Linked DNA regions of Homo sapiens: region 2 is linked to region 1. Evidence: promoter capture Hi-C in human tissues and cell types (Jung and others, 2019). All regions are on one chromosome and are shown on one strand. The core of a region is centred on a gene start or on the middle of the fragment in contact, and the rest is flanking DNA. Distances in the headings are between cores, read along the strand shown.

Region 1 (6,277 bases), core at 2,009-4,508:
TTTTCCTGGTAATATAAGAAAGAACTTAACTTCTAATTTTAGAGTACTGAGTCCATTTCTCTGGAGTCTGTTTTTTTTCCTGAATGGGCCATTGCTATCTTTCTGCTTGAATAAACTCTTCAAACTGAAATCTGAACCTTTGAATTATTTCGGGCTGGCAAGTCCAAATAAGGCGACTGCATCTCTGCAACCAATCAAGCATTTATCTGGTTTGTCTCCTCATGTACCTTATAAAAGCTGAGGCTTCAACCTATAAACTAAAAATAAAAATCTATCTTCTGGCCTGGCGAGGTGGCTCACATCTGGAATCTCAGCACTTTGGGAGGCCGAGGCAGGTAGGTAACTTGAGGTCAGGAGTTCGAGAACAGCCTGGCCAACATGGTGAAACCCCATCTCTACTAAAAACACAAAAATTAGGCAGGCGTGGTGGTGCATGTGGGGAAAAGAGAGATCAGATTGTTACTGTGTCTACATAGAAAAGGAAGACATAAGAAACTCCATTTTGGTATGTACTAACAAAAATTGTTCTTCTTTGAGATGCTGTTAATCTGTAACTTTAGCCCCAACCCTGTGCTCACAGAAACCTGTGCTGTATTGAATCAAGGTTTAATGGATTTAGGGCTGTGCAGGATGTGCCTTGTTAACAATATGTTTGTAGGCAGTATGCTTGGTAAAAGTCATCACCATTCTCCATTCTCGGTTAACCAGGGGCACAGTGCACTGCGGAAAGCCGCAGGGACCTCTGCCCAACAAAGCCTGGGTATTGTCCAAGGTTTTCCCCCACTGAGACAGCCTGAGATCCGGCCTCGTGGGAAAGGAAAGACCTTACCATCCCCCAGCCTGACACCCCTAAAGGGTCTGTGCTGAGGAGGAATAGTGAAAGAGGGAGGCCTCTTTGCAGTTGAGATAAGAGGAAGGCTTCTGTCTCCTGCTCGTTCCGGGGAATGGAATGTCTCTGTGTAAAGCCGACCATTCATTCTATTCTGAAATAGGAGAAAACCGCCCTGTGGGAGGCAAGATATGCTGGCAGCAATACTGCTCTGTTACTCTTTGCTACACTGAGATATTTGCATAAAGTGAAACATAAATCTGGCCTACCTGCACATCCAGGCACAGTATCTTTCCTTGAACTTATTCATGATACAGGTTCCTTTGCTCACATGATTCCCTGCTGACCTTCTCCCCACCATCACCCTGTTGTCCTGCCACACTCCCCTCGCCAAGATAGTAAAAATAGTGATCAATAAATACTGAGGGAACTCAGAGACCAGCGCCGGTGCAGGTCCTCGCATGTTGAGCGCCGGTCCCCTGGGCCCACTGTTCTTTCCCTATACTTCGTCTCTGTGTCTTATTTCTTTACTCAGTCTCTTGTCTCTACCTGACAAGAAACACCCACAGGGGTGGAGGGGCAGGCCCCCTTCAGGTGCGTGCCTGTAATCCCAGCTACTCAGGAGGCTGAGGCTAGAGAATTGCTTGAATCCGGAAGGTGGAGGTTGCAGTGAGCCGAGATTGAGCCATTGCACTCCAGCCTGAGTGACAGAAGGAGACTCTGTTTTAAATAAAAACAAAAACAAAGTACCTTCCCAGGTAAGTGAAGTGACCGGCTCTTGGCCAAGGGAACCCCCAAAAAACCCTGAAAATTGAGTGCCTCTGTATGACAGGATGGGAGGTGAGACAGGCCTCCTTATACCCTCTCCCTTTAGGAGTTTACATGCAGCAACTGACGCACATTCATGTAAAAACAGACATTATCTGACTGGAAAAACAGACTCCTTGTGGCAAGAAGATACCAAATTACAAACAAGACCTAAGGCCACGCAAGACAAGGGTAAGTCACACCTTAGAATTCATAAAATCTAGAGAAACAGGTCTGTTTTTTGGCTGGGATGGAATCAAGTGGCAGATAACAGACCCCCTTCCTTCAGCATTCCTTCCTACCTCCTCCAAACTTTAGACAAAGCTTCACACTCTCAACCAGCTGCCACCTACAGAATCCCTCAACCACCTGTGCCTTCTAACCCCCCTTCCACAGGTCCCGCCCTTTCTGTTTTTTGTTTTTGTTTTTGTTTTGAGACAGAGTCGCACTCTGTGCTGAGGCTGGAGTGCAGTGGCACTGTGTGGGCTCACTGCAACCTGTCTCCTGGATTCAAGTAATTCTCTTGTCTCAGCCTCCCGAGTAGCTGGGATTACAGGCGTCCACCATCACGCCCGGCTAGTTTCTTTTTTATATTTTTAGTAGAGACGGGGTTTCACCATGTTGGCCAGGCTGGTCTTGAACTCCTGACCTCAGGTGATCCGCCCGCCTTGGCCTCCCAAAGTGCTGGAATTACAAGCGTGAGCCACCGTGCCCGGCCAGGTCCCTCCCTTTCTGCCTAAGGAAATTACACCTTCCAGGCACTAATTCATGATTTTCCCTGCAATTCCTGTCTCTCTAAAATGAATAAAACCAAACTGTCTTGAGCCGCCTCGGGACCACTTACTCCAGGCTTCTTGGGGTTGTTTTTCCCTCGGCCAAGGTCTCTCCTATTCGGCTCCGAATAAACTTCTTTATTTTACATAGTTTGGCTTTTTCCGTTGACAAACCACAAGCCAGGACTGGGTGTGTCTCATTCGTGAATCGCTGTTTGCTCAAATGAACTCTTTGTTAACGTTCCTCAGTTTAATTTTTAACAGGAGAAAAAGTGGACACTGGGGGCCCCACAGACCGCTGCTCCTCCCAAGCACGAACCCCACACCCGAGTCGGGATCACCCACATGACCCTCCCGTGGCCCCCGCACAATCTGGGTAGACGCGTGGCTGCGGGCGCGGAGCTGCCCATAGAGGGCTCTGGAACCGCAGTCGCCGCGCAGAGACGAGACAGGACGCCTGGTGTCCCGGCTACCGGCCCAGCCACACCGAGCAGTCGAGGGGACCGAGGGCCGAGCGGCTCCAGGAGGACTCGGTCCCAGATCCCAAAGTCGCCCGCAGGAAAGCCAGGGTCTCGCCACAGTCGGTTCCGGTCGGTCCAGGCAGCCCCTCCCCCGTCTCACGACACCCGGCCCCAGACACGCACCATTTCCTGGCTTTCAGATGTCCCGGGGTCCTCTCTACACCTCCTGTGACTACAGCAGGGCATAGCGTAGGTGACAGAGTGACAGAAGCCTGGGCAGAGGAACCAGGTCCCTCTCGGGGCTGGAAAGACCGGATCCCAGCCGCAGCCCGCGCAGGGACAAAGGTGAGGTAAGGAATGCGACCCCCTCAGTGTCTGGAGGAACAGTGGGCAGGGACCCGCCACAATGCCTCTGATTGGATGGAATGCTAGGCCCCGCCCCCCATGTCTGAGTGACAGCGGAAGCCCTGGGTATCGGGCCCTGCAGAGCCAGACAGACGGATTCTGACCACAGCTTTTCCAAGGGCGAGCTCCTTCCTGCACTCTGGTTATTGGATATTTGCATTTCAGCCAAACTTGCTATTGATAGAGGAGAACACTAGCGTCTTCCTCACTCAAGGGACTGTCCCTGCTCCTTCGTTCTGCATGGGGTCACAGGAGTGTGCAGGGAATTTCAGATTCAGTGTCCACAGGAGCCATCTCCTGCCTCAGAGCAGCAGGGGAACCGAGACCAGGCCAGACACGACTGCGCCAGGAGGAGAGGCATATGTCTTGGAGCGGGCCGCAACTGGGGATGAGGCATGGCTAAGACTTGCTCTCACACCCCCATCCCCTCCTCACAGTGTGAAAATGCTTCCTCCTTCCAGATCTTCATTTTCACCAGCAGGAAACTCTCTCCAGGGGTTAAGTTAAGCTTTTGACCTAAATAAACTGCCAACTTCATGAACCCTTTATCCAGGTGACGCTCCCAAACATTTCTGTCTCTAGCCTGATCTTCACACATTTTCTTTTCTTTTTTTTTTGAGACAGAGCCTCGCTCTGTCCCCCCAGGCTGGAGTGCAGTGGTGCAATCTCCACTCACTGCAACCTCCGCCTCCTGGGTTCAAGTGATTCTCCTGCCTCAGCCTCCCCAGCAGCTAGGATTACAGGCACATGCCACCGCGCCTGGCTAATTTTTTGTATTTTTAGTAGAGACAAGGTTTCACCATGTTGACCAGACTGGTCTTGAACTCCTGACCTCAAGTGATCCACCCGCCTCGGCCACCCAAAGTGCTGGGATTACAGGCGTGAGCCACCGCGCCTGGCCCACATTTTCTTTATATATATGAATATCTCTGTCGGATATAAAATGCTTTAGGAATAAATTCTTGGTCCCACGAAGTAAAACTAGCACTTAGGGGAAAGTTTCATTTGTTTAGCAAGGCAATTTACTTCTGCAGAAGTGTGCCACTTGTGTCAATCAAGATCACAAGAGCACAGAGAACAAAGGTCACCGGGGGTTTTTTTATCCTTAATGCGGTCCCTATCTCTGTGTCACTCCTTCATGGGCTGGGGTTCGACCACACAATCTGAGCTGACCCGACTGGCTACTTGTACGTATTTTTCTAAATATAGAAGGAGAGGGGAACGTGAGGTACAGAGATGGAGCGTGTGAGACGTGCAGTTTCGGGGGAACAATGGGTACAGGTAACCAAGGGAACAGATGTGAGTTATTGATTAGAGCTGACGGGAAGGGGGTAGGCTGTTTTACAGTAACTAGGGGCAAGGAGGAACAGGAAAGTTGAGCTGGAGAACAAAAGACAAGGAAGTTAGCAGGCTAAGTCTTTGAAGAGAAACTCAGAGAGGCCAGGCGCGGTGGCTCACGCCTGTAATCGCAGCACTTTGGGAGGCTGAGGCGGGTAGATCACGAGGTCAGGAGATCGAGACCATCCTGGCTAACATGGTGAAACCCCGTCTCTACTAAAAAATACGAAAAATTAGCCAGTCGTGGTGGTGGGCGCCTGTAGTCCCAGCTACTCGGGAGGCTGAGGCAGGAGAATGGCATGAACCCAGGAGGCAGAGCTTGCAGTGAGCCGAGATCACGCCACTGCACTCCAGCCTGGGTGACAGAGTGAGACTCCGTCTCAAAAAAAAAAAAAAAAAGAAACTCAGAGAAATTTACTGTATGTTACAATTCCTCCCTTTTAATTTTCTTATGATTTTTTCTCTTTAAACTTTTTTAACGTGTTTTGGCTTTGCTGTTTGATTTGATCTTTTAAAAGGAAAAGCTTACTTGAATAAGGTGGAGGAGAACTAAGGGAGGTTTCAGTAAATGCTGTTCGTACAATCCTTTGTATTAGCCTACGGATGCATGGTATGACACAACGCCTAACAAGAATAAGTACACCTGTTACGACTGTAAAAGAAATAAGTATTGAGGCTATGATTCTTTATTGACTGAACTACTTTCCTAGCCATCTTGAAATAGGGTCATTGACTCCAGAAATTTTAGCTAATTCATTGGATAAAGCGGTAAGTCTTTGCAAGGCCTTTGTTATGCTCTCACTGGGGGCAGTGTTGTTTGGAATGAAGGTACAACACTGGGTTTTAATCATAACACAAACTCCACCTTTTTTGGCTAATAACATGTCTGGAGCCATTCTGGTTTTTATTTTTTGAGATGGAGTCTCACTTCGTGGCCCAGGCTGGAGTGCAGTGGCACCATATTGTCTCACTGCAAGCTCTGCCTCCCGGGTTCACGCCATTCTCCTGCCTCAGCCTCCCCAGTAGCTGGGACTACAGGTGCCCGCCACTACGCCCGGATACTTTTTTTGTATTTTTTAGTAGAGACGGGGGTTTCACCATGTTAGCCAGGATGGTCTCGATCTCCTGACCTTGTGATCCGCCCACCTTGGCCTCCCAAAGTGCTGGGATTACAGGCATGAGCCACCGCGCCCAGTCAAGTGATTCTGTTTTCTTAAGCTATTTGGCTAGTAGGCCTTAACTGGTCAGCTGTTTTTTGATAAGATCCTTGGTGTAATTCATAAACTGCTGCTAATTATAATAGATGTAATTTATCGAAGCTACATTTTTATTAATAGTTATTCGGGGAAATATGGGTTTAAATCTTGCAGTTATTTGGTCTCAGGTTTTGAACTTGTTAGGCACTCCCCATGGGACTCTAATGGCCTTTATGTAAACTTGAGAGTCAAAAGACTTATAAGGGGCTTCTCTTATTTTTTGGTGTTGTGGCTTTTCTTTTTTTTTGGTTGATGAAATGCCAGTGTGAAAGGGATCGCCAATTGGACAAGAGCGCAAGTGCCGCTCCAGTTACTTGGCAGAGTATCCAGTAAAGGTCCACTACAATACCACCATACATCTGCTTGAGGATGACTAAGGGCAGACTGATGGGTAAGTTTTTGGAAGGG
Region 2 (6,277 bases), core at 3,278-5,777, 240 kb before region 1:
CAGGTATTTCTCTTCCTTGCATATACATGAAAGGACACACACTGGAGATAAGCCATATGAGTGTAAGGTATGTGGCAAAGCCTTCACTTGTTCCAGTTCCATTCGATATCATGAAAGGACTCACACTGGAGAGAAACCCTATGAATGTAAGCACTGTGGTAAGGCCTTTATTTCCAATTACATTCGATATCATGAAAGGACTCACACTGGAGAGAAACCCTATCAATGCAAGCAATGTGGCAAAGCCTTTATTCGTGCCAGTTCATGTCGAGAACATGAAAGAACTCATACCATTAATAGATGAGAAATCCTTTTAGTGGAAGCAACGGGAGAAGCTTTCTGTTGTCCCACTTCCTTTGAAACACAAGAAAAGAGAGTGGTGAAAGAACCTCTGGATAACTGCTTTTTGAATTGAGAAGAGAGACTTGCGATAGGACAATAAAATCTAGAAGAACTTGGATGGTTTCGTAATACAATTCACCTATAGCCAATCTTGCATGAGATTTCAAAGGCACAGAAAAGGAAGGCATCAGTCACATATTAGAGGCCCCACACAGGGAGAGAGGTGTGTGGCTACCCGCTTCCAGCCCATTTTCCTGATTCTTTGGCTTGTTAATCGAGAATATCCCCCAAATCACTTGTCTCTGTTCCTCAGAGTTGTAGGTCTCCAGATATGTCCCCAGTGCTCCACATTAAAGATACATGCCCACTTTGCTGTTTCTTCAGAAATGTTAAAATGTTTACCAGAGAACTAATAAATGTTGTTATGGCTGGAAATACTCACTGATGCCCAACTCTTCTATAGATTGAGTTGGTTTAAGAGGTCTACTTTGTATTGCAAGCATTGTTGTTTCTACGGATTAGCGAGCCTGTTCTTGATTAAACCAACTAGATGGGAGCTTGTTCCTCTGCTGCATTGTGCAGTGATTGGTCTCACCAAGGGCTTTTATGTGAGAAGAGCCACCTTGCTCTTATCAGGAAATTTCAAGCATTTGCTGTTATTCACAACTGAATGTAATGTCTCACTTCGTTTTTAACTTTGTATGAGTATACCTGACTAAAAACACTAATGCGGTTTCTTGGCAACAAATACTTCTGTTCATGTATTTTAGAAATAAGCTTATTAACTGTTTATAACAACTGCATACTAACAATTATTATTTTTTAATGAAGAAGCTACATTACAACCTCCCATTAACATCATGTATTAGATCAAGTTGATAATGTTACCATGTTATCCGGTGGTCACTGTGAGTCAGTGTTGCCATGTGGATGTCAGGCATATTTTTCCTCATGTAGATTTTACTTTTCATGCTTATATTCTTAGTTTTTATCTGGATCATGAATTTTCATCTATTCTAAATACCAAAGGTGATCTCATGTTCTTATGAGTGACTTCTGACCAAAGACCACCAGTGGCATAAGTGTCGTCAAAGAGGGTGTAATAATATACTGTGGTAATGAATATGACCAAAAGCCATAGATGACTGTGAGATGTGTGAGATATTAAAAGATAGTCACATTTCGTGAGAAGAGAAAAATTTGGGGTATGTTTGCAATTTAAAGTGTTTTCTTCTGTCACATTTCAAGACATGGTTAAAGAATGAGGTTTTTTTTTATTTTAATTTTTTTTTTTTTGAGACGGAGTCTTGCTCTGTCGCCCAGGCTGGAGTGCAGTGACTCGATCTCGGCTCATTGCAAGCTCCGCTTCCTGGTTCACGCCATTCTCCTGCCTCAACCTCCCAAGTAACTGGGACTACAGGTGCCCGCCACCGCGCCTGGCTAATTTTTTGTATTTTTAGTAGAGACAGGGTTTCACCATGGTCTCGATCTCCTGACTTCGTGATCCACCCGCCTCGGCCTCCCAAAGTGCTGGGATTACAGGCATGAGCCACTGTGCCCTGCCAAGAATTAGTTATTTTTGTATTGATCCATCATGGTCACTGAAGAGCATCATCTCACATTGCAGGTGTATGACATGTGCCTGTTCAGGGGCAAAAGACTCGGCCTTCTGGCGAGGGGAGGCCAGCCATCAGACTTCTGGACCAGTTTTTACCATACTATTCTCTAAACCCTGATATATTCCCTACAATTTATGGACATTGTTAACCATAACATACCTCAGTTAAAATCTATAAATTCACTTCTTATCAAGGTATATACTATGATTTTATTTATTTATTTTTTGTAGAGATGGAGTCTCCCTGTTTCCCAGGCTGGTCATTGACTGCTGGATCATGTGATTCTTCTGTCTCCATCTCCCCAAGTTCTGGGATTACAGACATGAGCCACCACAATTGGCTACTACTTTTTTAAAAAAATCACCTTGAGTCCTATGGGGCCAATATGTTTTTGAAAACTGAATTTCCTGCCCAGTAAAGAACAAAGTCAGCATCACTATTCCAATCAAGTCTTTCTTTCTCTGGTAACATGCTGTTGATGCAAACTTGTCAGGAACCCTCTTATGCTAATATTATGAAGCTAATGACATCGTGGAAAAGTCATGCATGGAACAATCCGATCATTTCCTTTAAGGTGTCATGGGTGCTTCTCTTCACAAAAGCTTATTTCAGTCTCCCTAGAGTAAAAATCCCAGTCCCAGCAGACATAGAAGCAATCACTGACTGACCAAACCTTAACTATGTGTGATGACATATGGAAAATACCTTGATTTGTGAGATATGAATTTTTTTTTTTTGGAGACAGAGTCTGGAGGACAGTGGTGCAATCTTGGCTCACCGCAACCTCTGCCTCCTGGGGTCAAGTGATTCTCCTGCCTCAGCCTCCCAAGTAGCTGGAATTACAGGCACCTGCCACCATGCCTGGCTATTTTTTTGTATTTTTAGTAGACAGGGTTTCACCATGTTGGCCAGGCTGGTCTCAAACTCCTGACCTCATGTGATCCACCTGCCTCGGCCTCCCAAAGTGCCAGGATTACAGGTGTGAGCCACCATGCCTGGCCAAAAATTCCTTTTTTTTTTTTTGAGATGGAGTCTTGCTCTGTTGCCCAGGCTGGAGGGCAGTGGCGCGATCTCGGCTCACTGCAAGCCTCCGCCTCCCTGGTTCACGCCATTCTCCTGCCTCAGCTTCCCGAGTAGCTGGGACTACAGGTGCCCGCCACCACGCCTGGCTATTTTTTTGTATTTTTTTTTTTAGTAGAGACAGGGTTTCACCATGTTAGCCAGGATGGTCTCGATCTCCTGGCCTCGTGATCCGCCCACCTCGGCCTCCCAAAGTGCTGGGATTATAAGTGTGAGCCACCACGCCTGGCCCAAAAATTCTTATTTTGACTATTCATGTCTTATTTTTGCACTTTTTCACAAAGCAAGGTCAAAAAGCAAAGGAAAAATCCTTTAAGATCAATGTACTTAGGTTGAAAATGTGTTTTTTCTCAGGAAAAACTTGTAATTTATATAATTACAATCCTCAGTTTATTTGCAGCATCACCAAATTTTCTTACATATTTCAAATGTGAACTTAAGATATATATTTTTCTCATTATTTACATTTTGCTTCCTACCTATGGCTTTTTTTTTTTTTTTTTTGAGACAGAGTGTCGCTCTGTTGCCTAGGCTGAATTGCAGTGGCACGATCTCAGCTCACTGCAACCTCTGCTTCCCAGGTTCAAGCAAGTCTCGTCACAACCTCCCAAGTAGCTGGCACTACAGGCGAACACCACCATGCCCAGTTAATTTTTGTGTTTTTTGTAGAATTGGAGTTTCACCATGTTGGCCAGACTGGTCTCTAAACTCCTGGCCTCAAGCGATCCATCTGCCTCGGCCTCCCAAAGTGCTGGGATTATAGGCATGAGCCAACATGCCTGGCTCCTCTAGACCTTTTAAATCTTTTACTCATGATATTGGTCAGCCCACGGTCAAAATAATTCATAAAAGGTATATACAAAAATTCAACACCACAATGAAAGTTAAATTCATTTGTTTAGAACCACTCAAGCAACTCAGGTGTACACAGATAGACCTGTGGCAACTGGTGAACAATTAAATGGCACAGAAGTGGCTGGGTGCAGTGGCTCATGCCTGTAATCCCGGCACTTTGGGAGGCCGAGGCGGGCGGATCATGAAGTCAGGAGATTGAGACCATTCTGGCCAACATGGTGAAACCTGTCTCTACTAAAATACAAAAAATTAGCCGGGCGTGGTGGCGGGCTCCTATAGTCCCAGCTACTCAGGAGGCTGAGGCAGAGGAATCCCTTGAACCCGGGAGGCAGAGACTGCAGTGAGCTGAGATCGTGCCACTGCACTTCAGCCTGGCAAAAGAGCAAGACTCTGTCTCAAAATAAATAAATGGCACGGAAGTTGCAATAATGACCTCTGCTGTGCAGTACTCTCTTGGCAGAGATACACAAGAACTCCAATAAGGCCCTCATATGATATGCAGAACTGCCTCAAACATCATGTGACCATAGAACTTTGCCAAGGACAGTCTTTTTGTACATCTCTGCACCTGGCTTACCCAAAGATTGGACTGGGCGCATTTCTCAAGCCATTGTCTACTGAACGTTCTTTGTAGCGTGTGGGGCAATGACGATTGCCTAGGTGTAATTTCCTAATCGCTGGGGTAGGTCTGGTTTCTGAGGGCCCAGCAGAGGAACTCAGTTCACAAAAATGGCTTCCTGTAGTTTCTGCTTGATACTTCCTATTCTGCCATCTTCCCAGAATCCTCTTTCCTGACTTCATATACTAACACGTCATTTCAGATCTCACTACAGATGTCACCACCTCAAGACACTGTCTTCTTTTCCGCCCCCCTTACCCCAACTTGAAACTCAAGGTCACACTCTCTCACCCATTACTCCTATTTCATTTAGTGTGTAGAATTTTTTCAACACACTTGTCAGAATCTGGAACATAACGTTCACAGGGTTGATTGCTCTCTGTTTAACAAGGTAAAAAGTTAAGTCATGTAGGCTGGGTGCGGTGGCTCACGCCTGTTATCCCAGCACTTTGGGAGGCCAAGGTAGACAGATCACGAGGTCAGGAGATCGAGACCATCCTGGCTAACATGGTGAAACCCTGTCTCTACTAAAAATACAAAAAATTAGCCGGGCGTGGTGGCGGGCGCCCGTAGTCCCAGCTACTCAGGAGGCTGAGGCAGGAGAATGGCATGAACCTGGGAGGCAGAGCTTGCATTGAGCCAAGATTGTGCCACTGCACTCCAGCCTGGGTGACAGAGCAAGACGCTGTCTCAAAAAAAAAAAAAAAAAAGTCATGTAAATTTAAGTGTCACCTTTCTTTTCTTTTCTTTTTTTTTTTGAACCTTTTCACCAACTGTTACACACTTTTTTTTTTTTTGAGACAGAGTCTCGCTCTGTCGCCAGGCTTGAGTGCAGTGGTGCGATCTCAGCTCACTGCAACCTTCACCTGCTGGGTTCAAGCAATTCTCCTGCCTCAGCCTCCCGAGTAGCTGGGATTACAGGCACGCACTACCACACCTGGTTAATTTTTGTATTTGTATTTGTATTACAGATGTGAGCCACCGCGCCTGGCTTACACCCTATATTAAAAAGTATTTCAGGGGCCAGGCACGGCGGCTTATGCCTATAATCCCAGCACTTTGGGAGGCCAAGGCGGGCGGATCACTTGAGGTCAGGAGTTCTAGACCAGCCTGGCCAACATAGTGAAACCCTGTCTCTACTAAAAGTACAAAAATTAGCCGGCTGGGGTGGTGGCCACCTGTAATCCCAGCTACTCGGGAGGCTGAAGCAGGAGAATCACTTGAACCTGGGAGGCAGAGGTTGCAGTGAGCTGAGACTGCAACACTGCACTCCAGCCTGGGCAACAGAGCAAGACCTTGTCTCTAAAATAACATAACATAACATAACATAACATAACATAACATAACATAACATAACATAACAACATAACATAACATAAATACAGTAGAGTAGAGTAGAGTAGAATTTCCAACAAAGTCCTTTGAACCATTTTCCAGAAAGGCAACGTCAATGAAGCTCCCTCTTGTGGTAAGGGCGGCATTAACATCCACACACTGTTGTGACTGGATTTCTCAAAATTGCACAGGGATCTAAGAGTGGAAAAACTCAAAATGTTTTTCCTGTGCATTCACACAATGCAATATCTCTATGACCAAATATGTGGAAGATTTTCTCACACAGCAAACAAGCCATCCATTCTCCACTGAACACCACCTGAGTGTCCTCTAATTCACGTGTCCCCAACTCTCGGGTACAGACGGGTACCTGTCCATGGCCTGTTAGGAACTAGGCCACACAGCGGGAGGTAAGCAGAAGCGAGTG

Evidence for each region. Contacts are between HindIII fragments. The study calls those that stand out against the background at their distance.
Region 2: a contact is called between a fragment that was not itself captured here and the fragment with the promoter of ZNF69 in region 1, in 11 of the 25 tissues and cell types used here (H1 embryonic stem cells, IMR-90 fibroblasts, bladder and 8 more).

What each region holds. Positions count from the first base shown.
Region 1 is chr19:11,884,763-11,891,039 of GRCh38, reverse strand. ZNF69 (zinc finger protein 69) reads right to left here and starts at 3,258. Exons shown (of 4, transcript NM_001364730.1): 1 at 3,054-3,258. The coding sequence starts at 3,116. RefSeq lists an enhancer at 3,012-3,061. The HindIII fragment of the contact is 10,336 bases long and covers 1-4,460 here.
Region 2 is chr19:12,126,614-12,132,890 of GRCh38, reverse strand. It overlaps ZNF20 (zinc finger protein 20), which reads left to right. Exons shown (of 4, transcript NM_021143.4): 4 at 1-1,541. The coding sequence ends at 304. It overlaps ZNF625-ZNF20 (ZNF625-ZNF20 readthrough (NMD candidate)), which reads left to right. Exons shown (of 8, transcript NR_037802.1): 8 at 1-1,541. Among named protein-coding and RNA genes, the nearest start is that of ZNF20, 11 kb to the left of the region's middle. The HindIII fragment of the contact is 9,523 bases long and covers 1-6,277 here.